Regions from separate parts of the Homo sapiens genome. Here region 2 is linked to region 1. Evidence: promoter capture Hi-C in 16 types of primary human blood cells and fetal thymus (Javierre and others, 2016). All regions are on one chromosome and are shown on one strand. The core of a region is centred on a gene start or on the middle of the fragment in contact, and the rest is flanking DNA. Distances in the headings are between cores, read along the strand shown.

Region 1 (2,500 bases), core at 1-2,500:
TGGGGAGAGGAGATGCAGTCAGAGACACGTCGCACTTTCCCCCAAAACCGCCCCTTCCCCTGCACCTACATTGGGAAAGTCCAGGCCCAGCTTGAATTTTTCATTCAGCCACTGGCTTCTGTCATAGTCAGGAGCTGCCGTGGGGAAGAAGAAGTGAAAACAAACCTCCCCAGAGCCCAGCCCTCCTTCCCGGGGACCCTCCCAAGGAACCAGTGGCAAGATCCCTGAGACAGGTGGATCTAGAATCTGACCACTCAGTCCCACATCCCAGGGTTCAGGGACAAAGAATCCCGCTGAGGGCTCTGGACCCCACACGGCTAAGGCTTCCAGGGTTTAGGGAAGCTCTGAGGGACACCCAACCCAATTAAACAGGGGGCCCAGCATCCCGCCCCAGCATTCTGCCTTGCAAGGCCACAGGACTCCCTCACCGGGGCTCAGGGAAGGGACAGCCTGCAGCTCCAGCAGGGGAGGCCTGCAGAGGTAGCCACAGGTGGCCACCATGGGTTGCTTGGTGCCAACTCAGCGTGAGTGGGCAGAGCCCGGACACAAGGGTGTCATTACCGTCCCCCATCGTATACTTCTTTTCCTCGTAGCTTGAGTCTGTGTATTCCAGGAGCAGGCGGATGGCGTGGGCCAGCTGGAAGAGATGGCCCGCAGGTCGTGTCAGAGATGGAGGGTCCCTGACTTGGTGACTTTCTCTGCACCAGGTGAGCCCCTAGTCTACACTGCACTGCACCCCCCCCCCACCCCGGCGCACGCACACACACACACACACACACACACACACACACACACACAGGCATGCACAGGCCCTCCTGTGAGAGATAGCCCTAAGGAGGGAACCGTCCCTAGAGCCGGTCCCCAGCCGCTCGGCACTTCCCGCCCACGCGCCCGGTCCCACAGTGCAGCGGACCCTCACTCACCCCGCGGATGTCCCAGTACCCCAGTGTCATGGACATGATGCTGGTTGGTGTCGATTCTGCAGACAGGCCTCAGCTGGGCTGAACTGCGACCTCCTCTGGGGTTCCCGGCACGCAGGGGCTGGACCTAGCGCCAGACCCGCCCCCTCGGCCCCGCTGCGCCCGCCGATCTTCAAGGTCGTCACTTCCAACCGGCCGATCTTCAAGGTCGTCACTTCCAACCAACAGGCGCGGGAGGCACGGAGCAGGTTGCTGGATCCTCACTGGCTGGAAGGAGTAAGATCCACCGCCACCTCCGAGTGTTCAGGGAGCAAGGTCCGGAAGCACTAGGAGGGGCTCGGCCTCGCCAGCTTCCGTAGCCCCGCCCCGCCCCGCTCCGCTTCGGACCTCTGCTGGGTCCCCAGGGACTCGGCTGTGCGCGTGAGAGTAAAGCCAGATCGTAAGAGAAAAGTTCTTCCCCCGTTTCTTCTTCTCCGGACGTCGCCCAGCCTTCTGCCTCTCGGCTGCCGAGTTCCCACAGGCTCTGGGAGACTGAGGCTGCCAGGGTCAGACTAAAGAGAGGTCTCAGAGAGTTTAATTCAACACTTCTTGGCTACTAAGTCTTAGAAGTCTGATGGTGTGCTCTCTCTGCTGAGTTGGGGAGCGTGAATGGAGGCTATGTCACCGAAGCTGATAGAGCTCAGTCTCTGTTGCAGATGCTCCCGACCCTTTTGCATTGGGCCAGTTCCCCAGCTCTGAGACTGGGTCCAGGCTCAGGAAGTGGCCTATGTGTCAAGGTGGATTCCCATGTAGGTTTGCCTACAGCAAGACGATAGCACCATGCACACACAAGTGCTTGGACTTCTGAATAGTTATACTTCTCATTATACATTAAGACATTAAGAATGTGTCATTCTGAGTCTTTTTTTTTTTTTTTTTTTTGGAACGGGGACTCGCTGTGTTGCCCAGGCTGGAGTGCAGTAGGGCGATCTCGGTTCATTGCAACCTCCGCCTCCCGGGCTCAAGCGATTCTCCTGCCTCAGCCTCCCGAGCAGCTGGGATTACAGACGAGCGCCACGACGCCCTGCTAACTTTTTTGTATTTTCTGTAGAGATGGGATTTCACCGTGTTGACCAGACTGGTCTTGAACTCCTGGTCTCAAGTGATCCACCCGCCTCCGCCTCCCAAAGTGCTGGGATTACAGGCATGAGCCACGGTGCCTGGCCTGTCATTCTGAGTTTATCCATCTTGAGCTGGGAAAGATAAAATGTCTAGGTCCAATTGTGAAGATGATTTTTTAAGAAAGCTAACACTTATGAGAATAATTATGAAAGAAACAGAATTGATATTGTTACATTAGTATTCACCCATTTGGTCATTCCTTTATTGAAACAACAGTTGTTGAGATCCTACCATATTCCAGGCACTGGGAATAAAACAATCCTTCAAAAACACTGTACTTTGGCCACCTACGACTAGAAGTCAGGTGGGAACTACAGGGGAGAGATTTTGAAAATACGGGACACTTCTTACTGTTTTTGCACACTGAGAGGCAGTGGAGTGGGAGAGGGGTTGAGTGTAGGAGAGAGAAGCGGTGCCTG
Region 2 (3,548 bases), core at 691-3,190, 110 kb before region 1:
GCCTCTGGAGAAGGGCTTTCCAGATGTCCCTGAGGTCCCTTCCTCCAGGGCTGTCAGGGCAGTGGGGCCAGGGTAATCCAGGCTCCTGGGACTGCCTACCTGGATGGGATGGGATGCAGAAGAGAGGGAAAGAAGGAGGGGGCATGTGTAGGAGTCACCCAGGGGATCCAGGGCTGGGAAGGTGCAGAACCAAGGCCCAGAATCGGGAACTGAGAAACATCTGGACCGACATCAGCTGCCAGGGCAATGAGGAAAAGGCAGGAGAATTCATAGCCCTGAGCACTGGCTTCAGATTTGGGGTTTAAACAAATGGAGGCACCGAGGAGAGCTAGGAAAATGGGGGCGGGTCTGAGATCCCAACCCCAGTCCATCCCCGGACAGAGCAGCTTCTGGAAGCACGTTAGGCCTGGCCTTCTTTCCTGAAAACTTAAGCCACTGGGCCTCTTGTAATTGTGGGGCTACAAATCACCCCCCTGCCTTCAAATCACGCACTCGCCCTTCGTCTGCCTTTATCGAGGAGGGCAGGCAGGTGGAGGGGTGGGCAGCATGGCAGAGTCTAGCCCAGGTGTGACCAGAGGCTCCAGAGACAAGCCCACCTTCTCCCCTGCCCTCCCACAGAAACCGCCCTCCTGCCATGCGCCCAGGATCTCTGTTGTCTCATCTGTCTCTGCAGTAGTGTGTTCCCACTAGCCATTATGCCAAGTCTTCCACCCTGAACACATCTGAACAAGTTTCTGGTATGTCATCCCTGGCCCACCATCCCATCCCCAGCAAAGCCTCCCATGCCCACTGTCTACACTCGGCGACTCACTCACAGCCCACCTCCTCACCCTCACACTCTTCAGCCGTCCCCAGCTGGCTCCAGCCCCCACTGCAAACCCACAGATGGTAGCCTTTCCTCCACCTCCCAGCAGCACCTGGCCCAGGTGTCCACCCCTCCTTCCTGAAACACTCTCTTCCCAGCTCTCCTTGCTGCTCACTGGCAGCCCCTTAGTCTCCCCTCATCCTTCCCAATCTCTTAATGTTGGAGCGCCTGGGTTGAGTCGTGAGCCCCCTTCTCTTTATCTATACACTTTCCCGCATGTGGTCTCGTGAGTCTTAGGTCTCTGAATGTTATTCGTGTATTTACAGCTGCCAAGTATCTACTGTCTTCTACACTGCAAACGTTCCCCGCATCATTGAATCATCTTTCTCCACATGCTTCTGAATGCCTGCATGTGGTCATCCTGCTCTGCTGAGCTTCTGACTCACACCTGCCCCTGCCTTCCTGCTACTTCCACCCAGAGGCCCAAAACACCTCTCAAACTGAGGCCATCCAGAATGGAACAGTAACTCTTCATATCCCCCTGCCTCCCAATCCCTCTTCTCTTCGGTTTCCCCATCTCACCAGATGTCACCATAACCCTCCCAGTTGTCCAAGCCAAAAACCTGAGTCCTAATAGGTCCTTTTTCCCCTCTCAACCCCCATTCTAATCCATAGCATGTCCCATCCGTTCCACCTGCAGCCTAAGTCTCCATCCTCACTGCCCTGCCATGTCCAGGCCTCACCACCCTCTCTGCAGCAGCTGCTTGTGGTCTCCCTGAGTCCGCCCCCACTCCCCCCACAGCCCATTCTCCCCACCCCAGCCAGAGTTGTGACTAGAACATAAATCCAATCATGCCACTCCTCCATTTAAAACCCCTCCGTGTCTTCCAACTGCCCTTGGAATAAAAACCAGGCTCCTGGCCATGGTCTACGGAGCCCTGTGTGCTCTGGCCCCTGTCCACCCCATTTCGGTCACCTCTCCGCCAGCTCGTTCCTTCTCAGCTGCAAGCCCTTCACATTGCTGGCCCCCTCTCCCAGGCTCCTTCCCATCCCTGGCTTAGCTTGAAGCTCCCCTCCTCAGAGAAGCCTTCTCCGACGTCGTGCTTCCAAACACCCTCCCACCCCCATGCCATCATCCACTTCACTCTATTTCTCTCTTGTCACTTGTCAGGACCTTGATTATCTTCAGATACATTTGTTTCTTCTACCTTGGCAGGTTAGTTGCGAGGGAGGGACATCATCTCTCTTGTTTATGTCTCCACCTGGCTCGTAGAAGCCACTTACCCCTGTGCCAGGGCTGGGGAAAGCAGGGGCAGGGATGGGAGCTGTCTCTGTGATTCCCCAGCAGCCCCAGGGCCAGGTGTCAGCCCCTGGACAGGACCACCATGACTCAGGGAATGCAAGGGCTGGCCCTTAAAGGACACACAGGAGTTCAGCCAAGGGGTGAAGTGGGCAGGGAATTGCAGGCAGAGGGATTGCAGTCCTACTGGATGAAGCGGCCTGGGAAGAAGAGTTGTCAATCAGCCCCTGATTGACATTGAGGCTGCCTCATCCATGCAGTCCACCAGCAAGAGGTGCTGGCTGGACCCTGCTCTGGGGTCTGGTTCTAAAGGTGAGGCGGCACCCATTCACCTCTGAATGCCAGGGCCCTGCCCTACCCCCTGCATGGTCATCCATGAACACAGAGCTCTTTTCCTCAGAGCCCTCCAGAGTTTCCCAGCTCTGACCAGGGCCTGCTCTGGAGCTTCCAAGGAACCCACCCTGCTTCTTGGCCCAGGCCAGGGTGGTGGGAGGGGCTCCTTGGCCCCTTAGCCTAAAGCCTGTGCACCTGGGTCTCTTTATATGCTGAGAACCAGCAAGCGGCAGCGTCTTCCACAAGACAGAAGACCCAGTAGCCTTCTTGTTGCATCTCCATGCAAAACCATTCAATGGCTCTACTCACCACCAGGTGATGACGGCACACATATGCTGTCATCTGCCACCACCTCCCCGCCACATACACATACACATGCACACACACGCGTGCACACACACAGTTCACGCCATACCCATCTTCTCCCCAGGCCGCTTCATCCAGTAGGACTGCAATCCCTCTGCCTGCAATTCCCTGCCCACTTCACCTCTTGGCTGAACTCCTGTGTGTCATTGAAGGGCCAGCCCTTGCATTTCCTCATCTGAGAAGTCCTCCCTGACACCCCCAAGCCGAGTAAGGTTCTTTATGCCTGCATACTACAGTGCTTTTGTTTACAAGCCCTTCTCTCCTCTAGACAGTGGCAGAAAACAATCTGGGTCCTCAGGGACCTGAAGGGGGCCTGCCCCTCCACACCTGTGGGTATTTCTCGTCAGGTAGGACGAGAGACTGAGAAAAGAAGACACAGAGACAAAGTATAGAGAAAGAACAGTGGGCCCAGGGGACCAGCACACTCAGTATGCGAAGACCTGCACCGGTGCTGGTCTCTGAGTTTCCTCAGTATGTATTGATTACTATTTTCATTATCTCGGCAAAGGGAGTGTGGCAGGAGAACAGGGTGAACAGGATGATGATGGGGAGAAGGTCAGCAGGAAAACATGTGAGTAAAAGAATCTGTTCATAAATAAGTTCAAGGGAGGGTACTGTGCCCGGATGTGCACGTAGGCTAGATTTATGTTTCTCTTTGCCCAAATATCTCAGCGTAGCAAAGAGTAACAGAGCAGTATTGCTGCCAGCATATCTCGCCTCCAGCCACAGGGCGGTTTTCTCCTA

Evidence for each region. The method cuts DNA at HindIII sites, captures the fragments that hold promoters and counts their contacts. A CHiCAGO score of 5 or more calls a contact.
Region 2: a fragment that was not itself captured here is called in contact with the fragment with the promoter of GSTM4 in region 1 in 11 of 17 cell types (M2 macrophages, endothelial precursors, megakaryocytes and 8 more); the score reaches 10.7 in M2 macrophages.

What each region holds. Positions count from the first base shown.
Region 1 is chr1:109,654,849-109,657,348 of GRCh38, reverse strand. GSTM4 (glutathione S-transferase mu 4) reads right to left here and starts at 1,250. Exons shown (of 8, transcript NM_000850.5): 1 at 924-1,250; 2 at 562-637; 3 at 70-134. The coding sequence starts at 959. RefSeq lists enhancers at 24-609, 1,483-1,532. The HindIII fragment of the contact is 5,301 bases long and covers 1-2,500 here.
Region 2 is chr1:109,767,174-109,770,721 of GRCh38, reverse strand. All of the region lies in intron 1 of LOC124904258 (a long non-coding RNA gene), which reads right to left. Among named protein-coding and RNA genes, the nearest start is that of EPS8L3, 5.0 kb to the right of the region's middle. RefSeq lists an enhancer at 188-1,143. The HindIII fragment of the contact is 5,200 bases long and covers 1-3,548 here.